Regions from separate parts of the Homo sapiens genome. Here region 2 is linked to region 1. The links are contacts of gene promoters, found by promoter capture Hi-C in blood cells and fetal thymus (Javierre and others, 2016). All regions are on one chromosome and are shown on one strand. Each heading gives the region's core, a stretch centred on a gene start or on the middle of the fragment in contact. The rest is flanking DNA. Distances are from core to core; before and after follow the strand shown. Region 1 holds the start of TMEM106C (transmembrane protein 106C). Region 2 has its middle 27 kb from the start of SNORA2C.

The links. Contacts are between HindIII fragments. The CHiCAGO score rates a contact against its expected background, and 5 or more counts as called.
Region 2: a contact is called between a fragment that was not itself captured here and the fragment with the promoter of TMEM106C in region 1, in 2 of 17 cell types (M0 macrophages and erythroblasts). The highest score is 6.2, in M0 macrophages.

Annotation. Positions count from the first base shown.
Region 1 is chr12:47,962,236-47,969,128 of GRCh38, forward strand. TMEM106C (transmembrane protein 106C) reads left to right here and starts at 1,361. Exons shown (of 8, transcript NM_001143842.2): 1 at 1,361-1,469; 2 at 1,974-2,188; 3 at 3,047-3,110; 4 at 3,603-3,762; 5 at 3,854-3,994; 6 at 4,448-4,497; 7 at 4,973-5,026; 8 at 5,898-6,643. The coding sequence starts at 2,002. The coding sequence ends at 5,994. The HindIII fragment of the contact is 3,638 bases long and covers 1-2,732 here.
Region 2 is chr12:48,624,626-48,631,166 of GRCh38, forward strand. It overlaps the pseudogene OR11M1P. Among named protein-coding and RNA genes, the nearest start is that of SNORA2C, 27 kb to the right of the region's middle. The HindIII fragment of the contact is 702 bases long and covers 1,200-1,901 here.

The DNA.
Region 1 (6,893 bases), core at 111-2,610:
CCTCTTACGTACGTGCCTTTTTTGTGGAGGTCTGGGGAAGGGGGGGCCCTACTACCGAATGAATCTACTCCTTGGTGCCTCTTGGCACCTAATTGGCTTGCAAAGCTCAGCTGTGGGGTCCGTTCCTGCGAGAAGCCAGCAGGACTCCCCATGGAAGGTTTCCCCCAGGCTGGGCCCCTCTGACTTGTGAGACTTCCAGCAGCACTTTTATCTACAGTATTGGAGGGGTCTGATGAAGCCTCTGGGTTCCCCTCCTGGACTGAAGACAGGTTCTGATATAATTGCCGGACGGGTTCTCCTTGCCCGTTGCCCAGAGCTGATTCATCAAGACAGGGGAATTGCAATGGAGATTTTAATTCATGCAGAGCCGGCTGAATGAGATACCAGAGTTTTATCACTCAAATAAGTCTCCCCGATAATTCAGAGACTGGGGTTTTTTAAGGATAATTCGGCTGGTAGGTATCAGGCAGTGGGGAGTGCTGATTGGTCAGGTTGGAGATGAAATCATAGGGGGGTCTAAGTGGGTTCTTCTTGCTGTTTTCTGTTCCTGGGTGGGATTGCAGAACTGGCTGAGCCAGATAACTGGTCTAGGTACTGCCAGCTGGTGCCTCAGAATGCAGGGTCTGAAAAATATCCCCAGCACCGATCTTAGATTTTACAATAGTGATGTTATCCCTTGGAGCAATAGGGAAGGTTTGGAATCTTGTGACCTCTGTCTGGATGACTCCTAAACCATAATTTCTAATCTTGTGGCTAATTTGTTAGTCTTACAAAGGCAGTCTGGTCCCCAGGCAAGAAGGGGGTTTGTTTTGGGGAAGGGCTGTTATCTTTGCTTCGAAGTTCAACTATAAACTAAATTCCTCCCAAAGTTAGTTTGGCCTATACCCAGGAATGAACAAGGGCAGTTCGGAGGTTAGAAGCAAGACGGAACTGGGTAAGTCAGATCTCTTTCACTGTCATAATTTTCTCACTTACAATTTTTGCAAAGGCAGTTTATCCGAATGCTCCGCATGTGTGTACCCTCAGCGACTACACAGCTCCTGTACTATAAAGAATATTTCAGAATGGCTTCGGTAGCCGGCAGCACCTTCCTCCTCTCGCAGCAGAGAAGTGTTTTGCTCTGGAAACTTGACTGGAGCCTTTCCCAGCCTATCTAGCGAACAGCAGAGCATCATCCCGACTCCGCGGACTACCGCGGCCCAACAGCAAGGGTCGCGGCTCCCCGGCGCTCTCTGCCGCCCTCTACCGGAACCGAGGGAGCCAGACAGCTGCGATATTGGGAAGGCCTCCGGAGCCGCGAAGAGCGCACGCGCGAGCGCGCGCCCGCGTTCTCCTGGCGGGCTTGGTATTTGGCGCCTGCGCGCTGAGTGCGTGCCGCTCCGCCGACCGAAGAGGCTGGTAAGTCCTCAAGCTGGCAGGTGGTCGGGGGAGCGGCCGGAGAGGAGCTGCCGGGAGTTCGTGCCCTGCAGGTCTGCGACGCTGGCGTTCGCTCCTGCCTGGGCCACTTTGGTGGGCTCAGAGCATCGCTTTTTGCCAAGGGGCGTGACCTGAGCCCGCCTCCTGGGGCTGGGGGGTGGAGAGGAATGGGAATCGTTAAGGCCGGTTATCAATTTGGTGCCTGTTTGTTGCTCGAGGAGGGGCATAGAGCTTACAAATAGTGAAGAGGAAGGGGCGAGGCTGGACCAGGTGGGAGCGGGGGTGCCCCAAGTCCCAGGGCGGTGAGGATCGAGGCAGGTGCGTGAAAGGCAGGCCCCGTTCCCCCTCCCCACCCCCGCCGGCTGTGTGTGGCGGGTAAGAGGAGAGTGGGTAGCACTACTACAAAATGAGGGTCCCGATAGAAATCGTACAGGTGTTGGGACCACACTCAGGGCGGCAACTTGTCATTTTTGCGTTTTTAATTTTCTTATAGAAACAAGCGATTTCTGTCGTGATTCACTGGGGCCGCTAACGTGCACTCCCTCTTTTCATCTTAGGACATGACACCAGTGGCATATCACGGCCATGGGGTCTCAGCATTCCGCTGCTGCTCGCCCCTCCTCCTGCAGGCGAAAGCAAGAAGATGACAGGGACGGTTTGCTGGCTGAACGAGAGCAGGAAGAAGCCATTGCTCAGTTCCCATATGTGGAATTCACCGGGAGAGATAGCATCACCTGTCTCACGTGCCAGGGGACAGGCTACATTCCAACAGGTGATCATGGAGGGATGATTCCCTGATGAGAATCCCAAGGTACCCTCGGAGTTCTCCTGTCTGCCCAGACAACTTTTCTTCTAGGCAGTAATACCATAATAGAGACAGTGCCCTGGACAGGAGCCAGCTCAACTGACTTAATACACTTGGGCAGTTCTGCAACTTCTCTTCCTCTCCTTATTTTTCCAACCCTTTCTTTTCTTTACCGCCACTCTTGTTCTTTTCCTGAGGTTTGGAACATTCAGTTCGCTCTGTGTTGTGGGATTTGTTGACAGGCACATTTCTTTATCGCTGTCACAAGGATTGGGACAGCTTTGCGGGGGAACCATCTTGGAAGCTGCTTTTCAAGGAAATGGGTAGCTAATCCTTAACAGCCTAAGGTCAGAAAAATATATCAGGTCAAGAGAGAGAGACAAATACTTAGCCTTGGTACAGGATCATCTATTACTATTAACAAATTGGCCCTCAGAAAGTCTTTAACAGTTTAGCTGGAGAGTCACAGAAATTTAGAGCTGGTTAGGACCTTCAAAATCATTTACTCCAAAGCTTCCATATGAAAGGCAAGGAAACCATGGCCTTGAGAGATTCGACGACTCTGCCAAGCCCATGCAGTAAAGCCAGAACAGGATCCCAGGTTTTTCAACTTCCACATCACTACCCTGGCAGCACTGATAGATGTTTTATAATTTGTGGCACTCTCTTGTTTCTTGTTCATTAGACCCAACATGTGAATTTCACTAGTATTTTTTAAAATGTCTCATTCCAGAAGAATATTTGTTGTGGCAGGCTCAAGTGAGACGTGAAGGAAGTACTGCCAACACATGGGATTTACAAAATAATTGTTTGGCTCTTTTCTAGAGCAAGTAAATGAGTTGGTGGCTTTGATCCCACACAGTGATCAGAGATTGCGCCCTCAGCGAACGTGAGTTACCTGCTTCTCACCTGTTAATACCTACTTCTGTCCCTAATCTCTTTCTGTATGTATGAATGCCAGTTAATTCTTTGAAAACTACACATGTTCTTATAAGTTCCCCATTTTCCTTATAACTGTTTGCCCAAGCAAGATATCTCTGCCCCCATCACAATCTGGGGAAAGAAACTTGAAGCTGGAAATGCTTTGAAGGTCAAGGAATGGAATCAGAAGAAACTGGGAAAGTGGAGTGTTCTGGGAGGTGTGGGACTGTCTCTGTCCACATAGCTCCTTTCTTCAGCTTTTCTTCCCAGAGTGCAAACAGTGTTTAAAGGAGTTTTAAAAGGTTTCTCCTGCTTCACTGCTTCTTAACTGGTTTATGGTTCCTGGCTCTTGGAACTTCCCTTTCAGCTCCCTTCTCTTTCCTGGTTTTGTGTTTAATCTTGACACATTGAACCTTGATATCTGACTGCCTGGGTCGGTCATGTGCTGTGTCATTTGCAGTAAGCAATATGTCCTCCTGTCCATCCTGCTTTGTCTCCTGGCATCTGGTTTGGTGGTTTTCTTCCTGTTTCCGCATTCAGTCCTTGTGGATGATGACGGCATCAAAGTGGTGAAAGTCACATTTAATAAGCAAGACTCCCTTGTAATTCTCACCATCATGGTAAGCCTTAGGGTTTCATTCCCTGGGTTGTGCACCTGCCAGGCTGGGACCCAGGACACTTACACTTGTTTCCTGACTTGCCCTGATGTAGGCCACCCTGAAAATCAGGAACTCCAACTTCTACACGGTGGCAGTGACCAGCCTGTCCAGCCAGATTCAGTACATGAACACAGTGGTCAGTACATATGTGACTACTAACGTCTCCCTTATTCCACCTCGGAGTGAGCAACTGGTATGCTGTTCTTTTAGGAATCTTGCCCCACAGGCCTAAGAGAAGAGTAGGGGGCTGTAGGAATGCCATAGCTGTGTCACTTTCCTTTTTGTCTCCTCATTTCTACTTGTAGGAACTGGTGATGAGGAAGACCTGTTGGGCCCTGTAATTATAAATAATTGTGAGAAAAAACAGCTATCATTTAAGCATTTGGGGAGCAGAATAATTTGTAAGAGACAAAGATTTGCTACAAAATAAGAAGCAGCAGTGTTACAGCCTGAGGTCCATTGGCCTCTCAAAAGGGAAGAGGTTGGCAGTATCAATTAGAGGCTCATAGACTATATTAGGGACAATCTCAGGGAAGTATTTTGCATGTGATGGAAGAATGACCCAAGGTCTTTGGATTGCTAATAATAATACTGTTCTGTGTCAAGCCTGCTTGGCCACAGACCAACTCTGGTATCTTATTTTCAGGTGAATTTTACCGGGAAGGCCGAGATGGGAGGACCGTTTTCCTATGTGTAGTAAGGACACTGTTCTCTCTGTGTGTGCTCTCTACTGGAGGAAAGGGATTCAAAGTCATACTCCATTGATTGGGGCCTGGTCCTGCCTTAGATCTCAGCTTTTGACTTATAGGTTCCCTGGCTTTGGATGTCTTGAGATTTATTTGAAGAATGTATTATTATTATGTGTGTATTTGAAGAATGTATTATTTGATATGTGACAGAAGTGCTGGAATTTCTAAAAGAGAACATTAAGCCACTAAAAACGTTACCAAGCTCCAGCACTTATGTGATGGGTTTGAAAAAACAGAAAGTGGTATGACGCTGTGGGAGGATGAAAATGACAGTGGCAGGGACTGAGAGCTGACAAGCCTTGGCAGCACTTAGGTCGGAAGGGGGAGGGGGGCACCCCAAACAGGACAGTGTAACTCTGCACTCTTCTACTGAGGCTTTAAAAAAAAAAAAACTGACTATTTCCATATTTGCTGTTTGGTAGCTTCTTCTGCACGGTACCTGAGATCCTGGTGCACAACATAGTGATCTTCATGCGGTGCGTCTCTCTTCCCTATCCCGATGGCCTGTCCGGCCATGTGAGCCTACCACCTTTGCTCAGGAGGCCCCTGTGTGACCACAGGGCAGAGGCACCTAGCCCGAGGGGACACCCTGTGCCTCACAGGCACAGATACAGTAGACCCTTGGTGTTCTCTAAACACAGTGTCCACATGCCCTTCACAAATCACCAGTCACCCTGAGCAGTCAAACATTTTCTCCATAAAATGGGTCTAGTTTAACTAAACACTTGATCCCCTCAGAATCCTAATGAGACAGTCATGAACAGAAAAGCTTTCTCAAGATGTTAAGTACTGGGCATTTGACCAGACTTCCTCTCTAGCCACACAAATTACCACATGTCATGGACCTTTAGGGTTGTTTTCTGGAAGCATGGCTGTTAAATTTGCAAGTGACAAGACTCTGCTGCAGACATGAAATATGAGGGGTTAGAGCAGAGTTTCTCAGCCTTGGCACTACGAACATTTTGGGCCAGACCTTTGTTGTAGGGGGCTGTTCTGTGCATTATAGGATGTTTAACAGTATTCCTGGCATCTGCCCACTAGATCCCAGTAGTAAACCCTCCATCCCTTAGTTGTGACAACCCAGAATGTCTTCAGGCATTGCCAGAAGTCTCCTGTGGGGTAAAATCATTCTCGATTGAGAAGCCTTGTTTGGAAGGCCACCTCCTGGCACAGTATCTCTGTGAAAGTGGAAAGATCTTCTGGCCTCCTGGTTACATAACCATGAGGATATGTGCCTGGGGCCCGTGGGTATTGTTCTCTGAACTTGCAAAAAATTTCCTGGGACATTTTTCTGGCTTATTTCATCCCCCAAACATAATTAATTCTTCTTGGTTTTCTTTTCCCTAGAACTTCAGTGAAGATTTCATACATTGGCCTCATGACCCAGAGCTCCTTGGAGACACATCACTATGTGGATTGTGGAGGAAATTCCACAGCTATTTAACAACTGCTATTGGTTCTTCCACACAGCGCCTGTAGAAGAGAGCACAGCATATGTTCCCAAGGCCTGAGTTCTGGACCTACCCCCACGTGGTGTAAGCAGAGGAGGAATTGGTTCACTTAACTCCCAGCAAACATCCTCCTGCCACTTAGGAGGAAACACCTCCCTATGGTACCATTTATGTTTCTCAGAACCAGCAGAATCAGTGCCTAGCCTGTGCCCAGCAAATAGTTGGCACTCAATAAAGATTTGCAGAATTTAATACAGATCTTTTCAGCTGTTCTTAGGGCATTATAAATGGAAATCATAACGTGGTTCTAGGTTATCAAACCATGGAGTGATGTGGAGCTAGGATTGTGAGTGACCTGCAGGCCATTATCAGTGCCTCATCTGTGCAGAAGTGGCAGCAGAGAGGGACCATCCAAATACCTAAGAGAAAACAGACCTAGTCAGGATATGAATTTGTTTCAGCTGTTCCCAAAGGCCTGGGAGCTTTTTGAAAAGAAAGAAAAAAGTGTGTTGGCTTTTTTTTTTTTTAGAAAGTTAGAATTGTTTTTACCAAGAGTCTATGTGGGGCTTGATTCACCCTTCATCCATTGGCTGGAACATGGATTGGGGATTTGATAGAAAAATAAACCCTGCTTTTGATTCATCTGTGTCTCCTCTGATTGCCTGGGTGTTTTGTAGGGATCTCTGGGGGAACCGTAGAATAGTTCCCTTCCAAGTGGGTCAGGATGGAATAGGAGGAAAGAGACTGCACCCTGATTGTACTCCCGTTCCCATGAGTTCCTGTCACAGCAAGCAGCCTCATTTTCTTCCATCTGCCTCTTGCGGCAGGGGGCTACCCTGTTCCCTTCCAGGACAGAGCACTCAGTGCCCCATGGAGGTTGGAATTCAGTCTT
Region 2 (6,541 bases), core at 301-2,800, 660 kb after region 1:
AAATGTAATTCCTCTTCTTTATAAGAGTCTCTCAAATATTTGAAAACAGTTATCATATTCTTCTATTCATTTTGTCTTTTCCAGATTCTCTACATTCTTCATCTATTCCTTGTATTTCACAGTTTTCAAGCCCTAATTCATGATACTCAGGCCGGGTGCGGTGGCTCACGCCTGTAATCCCAGCACTCTGGAAGGCCGAGGCGGGCAGATCACGAGGTCAGGAGATGGAGACCATCCTGGCTAACACGGTGAAACCCCGTCTCTACTGAAAATACAAAAAAGTAGCCGGGCTCGGTGTTGGGCACCTGCAGTTCCAGCTGCTTGGGAGGCTGAGGCAGGAGAATCAGTTGAGCCTGGGAGGTGGAGGTTGCAGTGAGCTGAAATCATAACCCTGCACTCTAGCCTGGGCGACAGAGCCAGAATCCATCTCAAAAAAAAAAAAAAAGAAAAAATTCATGATAGTCAACAAAAAGCCCAAATTATTTTCACATAATTGGCTACTAAGTTGGGTCTTACCCTTCCTATGCTTGTGTAACCGGTTGTTAAAATCTACATGCAGATTTTATATGTGCCTCTGTTAAATTCCGTCTTGTTTTTAGTTTGGCATTCCAAAAGGCAAGATTATTTTGAATTATAATTGTTGCTTACAATATTGATTTTCCCTCTTTGTTTCATATCATCTGAAGTTTGATGAGCCATGCATGCTTACTATGCCTATTGAAGTCATTGCTAAAATAGGTGACGAAGATAAGATCTACAACACATTCTCCTTTTCACTAGACAGATTTCTCCAGATTTTTAGTCATTAATGAATAATTTTGGTGTATGGTAGCCAAACTAAAAGCGTTATCTTTTTTCTTTTTTTCTTTTTTGAGACAGAGTCTCGTTCTGTCGCCCAGGCTGGAGTGCATTGGCACGATCTTGGCTCACTGCAACCTCCGCCTCCCAGGTTCACGCCATTCTCCTGCCTCAGCCTCCTGAGTAGCTGGGATTACAGGCGCACACCACCACACCTGGTTAATTTTTTGTGTATTTTTAGTAGAGACAGGGTTTCACTATGTTGGTCAGACTGGTCTTGAACTCCTGACCTCGTGATCCGCCTGCCTCGGCCTCCCAAAGTGGTGGGATTACAGGCGTGAGCCACTGCACCAGGCTAAAAAAGCGTTATCTCTAAGCACACAGTCATCATCTTTTTATGAAGCTTTACTGAGATTAACATGCCCTTTCTCTGCTCCTTTCTCCTGATTGTTAAATTATTAGTACTGTCAATAAAAGATATTATTATGAGGTTTTACATTAGGTTCAGCATTACAAAGATCCTGGTGATCCCTTATGGGACTTCCAACTATTCTACATAGCATCTATTTAGGAATTTTACCAGGAACCAAGGTCAAATTCATTGGTTGGCAAGGGCAGTGCTTCTAACTTTATAATCATAAGCATTGGCTCAGAGTGTAGACTTCAGAAGTTTCGGGTCAGTTGACTGGTTGGTTGATTTGGTTAGTTTAACTAGTTTCTTCCTTTGCTCCCTCTTTCTGCTAAACCCAGAGTCCTATTTCACTCTCAATTCAAGTCACTCCTTGGCTCTTTAAGAAATCATTAGTATATAGAAGACAGAATATGTTCAAATACATATGAAAGCATTCAGTTTGTTCCATGTCTGTATCCCCATATGACTGAATGTGGGTCTGCATGATGTAAGCCCAAAGCCAAAGGAAAACGTAGGATCAGGCCAGGAACAGAAAAACCCTGTGTTCTCACTGCCATCGGCTAATGTGAGATGTCGCCTTTCTTAACTTCAAAAGTGAGAAAACTATCACATTGGGCTTTCTGGTTTCTTCCTCCTACGCACACACATATTTTTGACTTCCATATCCATTCTTATTTATGATTCCATCCCAAGCTTCCAATATTCCCTCAACTGTAGGGGATGACCCAATGATTCCTCCTCTATTTTAGTAGTCATTTAAATGTCTCTTTGACTCTAGCGTTAACTGTCAGATGGTGCAATTTTTTCATGGCAATTTGCTTTTGGAAAATTATTGTAATGAATTCATATATTAATTTATTTATTCATTCCACAAAGTCTTCCTATGTGTTTGGTGGAAAGGTAGTGCTGCAATAACTGAGAGAAGGAAACCTACGCCAGAAGAGAAGTTTCTAAAGAACCCACAGTTAGTTAAGATAAACTGAGCATTTGACCTGTATGGAAAATACAAGGCAGGAGAACCAAGATAAATAGAGTGTTTCCAGTTTCCAACAAACTGATCGGAGACTGGGCAAAGTGTGGAAATGGCTTTACCAAGGGTCACCAGGCCACCTGTCCAAAGAGAAAGAGTGGTTTCCCAGGGGGGTGGGATCTGGGTTAATTCAGATCTTTCTGTGTTGCATATCTTGCTGAATAGATGATATAGATTGCTCATCTGGATTTCCAAGTCTCATTTTCTTGGAAAGAAAAAATAGTCTGAGATGAGTGGCAGCCTCAGGAACGTGCATGACTTCAGAGTAGGACCAACTCTCCTAGAGGCGATGCGCACGCCTCCTACCCTTCCACAGTTCACCAGCTGTGGTCCTCCTGTTGGTGCCCAGCCGGGACCTCCAGGTAAATAGCTCCCTGCGGATTGGAAGAACATTATGCTGCTCTCTAATTTTGACATTTCTATCACTTAAAAAACGTTTGGGGCCAGATGCAGTGGCTCACGCCTATAATCCCAGAACTTTGGGAGGATCGCTTGAGCGCAGAAATTTGAGACCAGCCTGGACGATATAGGGAGACTTCATTTCTGTTAAATTTTTTTTTAAGTAGCCAGGCATGGTGGCATGTGCTTGTAGTCCCAGCTACTTGGGAGGCTGAGGTGGGAGGATGGCTTGAGCCCAGGAAGTCGAGGCTGTAGTGAGCTGTGATCGCACCACTACACTCCTGCCTGGGTGAGACCCTATCTCAAAAAAAAAAAAAAAATGTGGGTGGAGCAGGTTGGGAAAGCACTGTAGAACAGTAGACCATTCGGGAGCCTTAGAGTCAGGCAAACCTGGGTTCACATCATGACTCCATCATAATGACCTGGAATAATTGACTTGAACAAACGGGTCTTAGTTTCTCTTCCACATCTGGGAGACAATAAGGCCTGTCTCTGATGCGTGCTGTGATGAGTAAATGGATAAGCCAAGCATGGAGTGTGGCCATAATAGTATCTTTGTTAATATTAACTACCTTCCTCTCTTCTCTTGGGCCCAGACCTGGAAGAAGAAGCAGTCCAGTGGTGACAGTGGGAACCAGACCACCTGGCTGATCCTAGTGGGCTTCGGGGAGCTGCAATACCTGGGCTTCCTTCCCTTCACTCTCTTCCTGGCCATCTATGTGGTGACAGTTGGGGGCAATGCCCTCATCATGCTGGCTGTGGCCTCTAGTCGGACACTGCACCCACCAATGTACTTCTTCCTCTGCCACTTCTCCCTGCTGGAGATTGGCTATACCTCCAACGTCATACTATGGCTGTTGCAGAGTTTCTTGGAGGGGAAGGAAGTCATCTCTCTAGTCAGCTGTCTGGCTCAGTTCTACGTGTTTTCCTCGCTGGCTGCAGCTGAGTGCCTCCTGCTATCTGCCGTGTCCTATGACTGTTACTTGGCCATCTGCTGCCCCCTTCACTATCCTGCCCTGATGAGCACCTGGTTTTGTCACTGCCTGGCCGCTGGTGCTTGGTTCAGTGGCTTCTTCTCCTCTGCCTTCACTATGGCCCTGGCAGCACCTCTGTCCTGGCAGCAGGGAGATTGACCACTATTTCTGTGAGTTTGCTCCAGTAGTCAGGCAGTTCTGCGGGGATGTGGGAGTCATGTAGGGAGCTGAAGTCAGCATCTCAGGCTTCCTGACACTGGCCGCCTTCCTACTGATTGTGGCATCCTCTGCCTTCATTGAGGGCTGTACTGCAAATACCCTCAGGCCATGAGAGGCAGAAAGCCTTCTTCACCTGTTCCTCCCACCTCACCGTAGTTGGGGTATTTTATGGCACCCTCATTGTGGTCTATGTGGCCCCAATAGAACACATGTCCCCTTGCTTCTAAAGGTCTTCTCTGTCCTCTACACAGTGTTCACTCCCATGGTCAACTCCATCATCCACAGCCTCAAGAACCAAGAGGTGAAGGGGGCTCTGCATAGGCTCAGGGGACAGCTCATCCCAGGACACACTCACTAAGGAGGACAGGACAGCTTTTGACTTCTTCCTGGATTGATTTCAGCTTAGCCCCTTCCTCAAAGTCTGATGGACTAGAGACCACTGCAATAAAAAGATGGAGACTGTGGGATTGAAAATGGATGTCTACCAAAATGAGGTAACTGTATTTTCCAATTGGAATTGGCCTCCCTATCCCCAGTGGTAGCAGCTTCCCCAACCCCAGCGACAGCAGCCTCTGTCCCTGTCTGAGGGAATTAATCCCACATTGCCTGAAGAAACTGTAATTGCCTCCCCTGGGGCAGTTCCCATGCAAGACAATGCTGATTCTCCTCAGAACCCATACCCATCACTCCTCTTTGGTTCTAAAACTATAGCTAGACCCAAGTCCCTGCAGGCCTCTAAAGGTGAGCACAAAGTGTGACCCATGAGGACATGCACTACAATCCAAAAGAATTACTTGGGTTTTCTAATTTATACAGACAGAAATCCAGTGAACATGCATGGAAATAGATCTTGAAATTGTGGGATGATGATGGAAGGAACGTAAAGTTGAATAAAGCCGAATGTATTGATATACATTTGTGACAGTGGGAACCAGACCACCTGGCTGATCCTAGTGGGCTTCGGGGAGCTGCAATATCTGGGTTTCCTTCCCTTCACTCTCCCTTCAAGGCTCACTAAAGCAGAAATTCTGCATTTAATGTTGCAGCTTGGGGAACTAGGAAGGATTCTAACAGTTTGTTTAGTTGGTTGACTGAAACATGAACCAAAAGGTGGGATACAGTAAGTGAATTAGAAATGCTGGATCTGCCTTGATTTAATGTAGAGAAAGGATTCAACGGCTAAAGGATATTGAAATATTAGAGTGGATTTGTTACTTAAGACCTACTTACCCATGTGAGAGGGCCCAGAAGACATACTTTTCACTATGACTAAGAAATAGGGAAGCCCCGGCATCCTTGAAGAGCTCTGTAATCTCTCTTCACTGTAGCCCAGACCTTACGGTGAGGACTGCAGTCACTGAATTGGGAAACCTACATTCAATGGGAGTGACTGCATCCTGAGATGGCAGAGGCCAAGTGGCAGCACTCAACCTCCAAAGGCAAGGTGTACATGGTTGCCACAATGGACAGCAGAGTCAAATCAGCAATCAGAATAGCCGGACTCACACAGACCTATGGCATACTGTTTCTAGAAATGCAATAGATAAGAAGCCTACTAAATTCTTACTTGATCAGAAAAGTTCTAAATCAAGTGAACATCAGCTAAGTTTTTATCAGGGTTATTCTACTAGTGCCACAAGAGAGTTAGATTGGGATTGTAAGAATGAAGGGGAAGTGATGATGAGGGTAACAAGAGGGATTGAGAATCTCAGCCATCCATCTTATTGGTTACAAGAAATGAAACTATTTCAACTTCCCTTGAATATCTTTCTTCATTTTTCTCCATGCCAAACCTACTCTTTCTCATGTAGAGAAACCTTCCAAGGATGGTTTTTCTGTGCTGCCTTCCAAGGATTCTCCTCCGCTACCTTTCCACCTTTTCTCTTGCATGTACCTTGGGATATAGAACAAAAGTGAATATATACAAGTGAGTATTTGGCTGGGAGATGAGGCTGGAAAGGTTGATTGGGAAACAGACTGTGATTGATTGATTACTGGTCATTCCAATTTTAATTCCATAAAATGACACCAAATAATTTTGGATTTATTTGGAATAAAATTCCAAATTAATAAATTTATTATAATTATAATTATTATTTTATTTGGAATAAAATTCTAAATTTATTAATAAAAGCATTTAATAAATTGTTGTATATTTTCCATGGGCTAATTATTGCTTAGGACTGGGAGTGCATATGAATTATAAATGATCTCTGACATTGAGGATCTCATAGTTTTTTCAACTCAGTCTTTTTTTTTTTCTTTTCTTTTTTTTTTTTTTTGAGATGGAGTTTCACTCTTATTGCCCAGGCTGGAGTGCAATGGCACCATCCGGCTCACTGCAACCTCTGCCTCTCGAGTTCAAGTCATTCCCCTGCCTCACCCTCCCGAGTGGCTGGGATTACAGGCGCCTGCCATCACACCCGGCTAATTTTTTTTTGTATTTTTAGTAGAAACGGGGTTTCACCATGATGGCCAGGCTGATCTCGAACTCCTGACCTCAGGTGATCTGCCCGCCTTGGCCTCCCCAAGTGCTGGGATTACAGGGGTGAGCCACTGCACCCGGCCTCAACTCAGTCTTAAAAATGGATTTTCATTTCAGATAGCACTAGTACAGCATAAGTTATGTCTCATCTTTCCCATGGCCTATTGGATGACCTCTCATCATGGAGCACTCTCCCTTTTCTATCCATACCTTTTGCTCTCTCT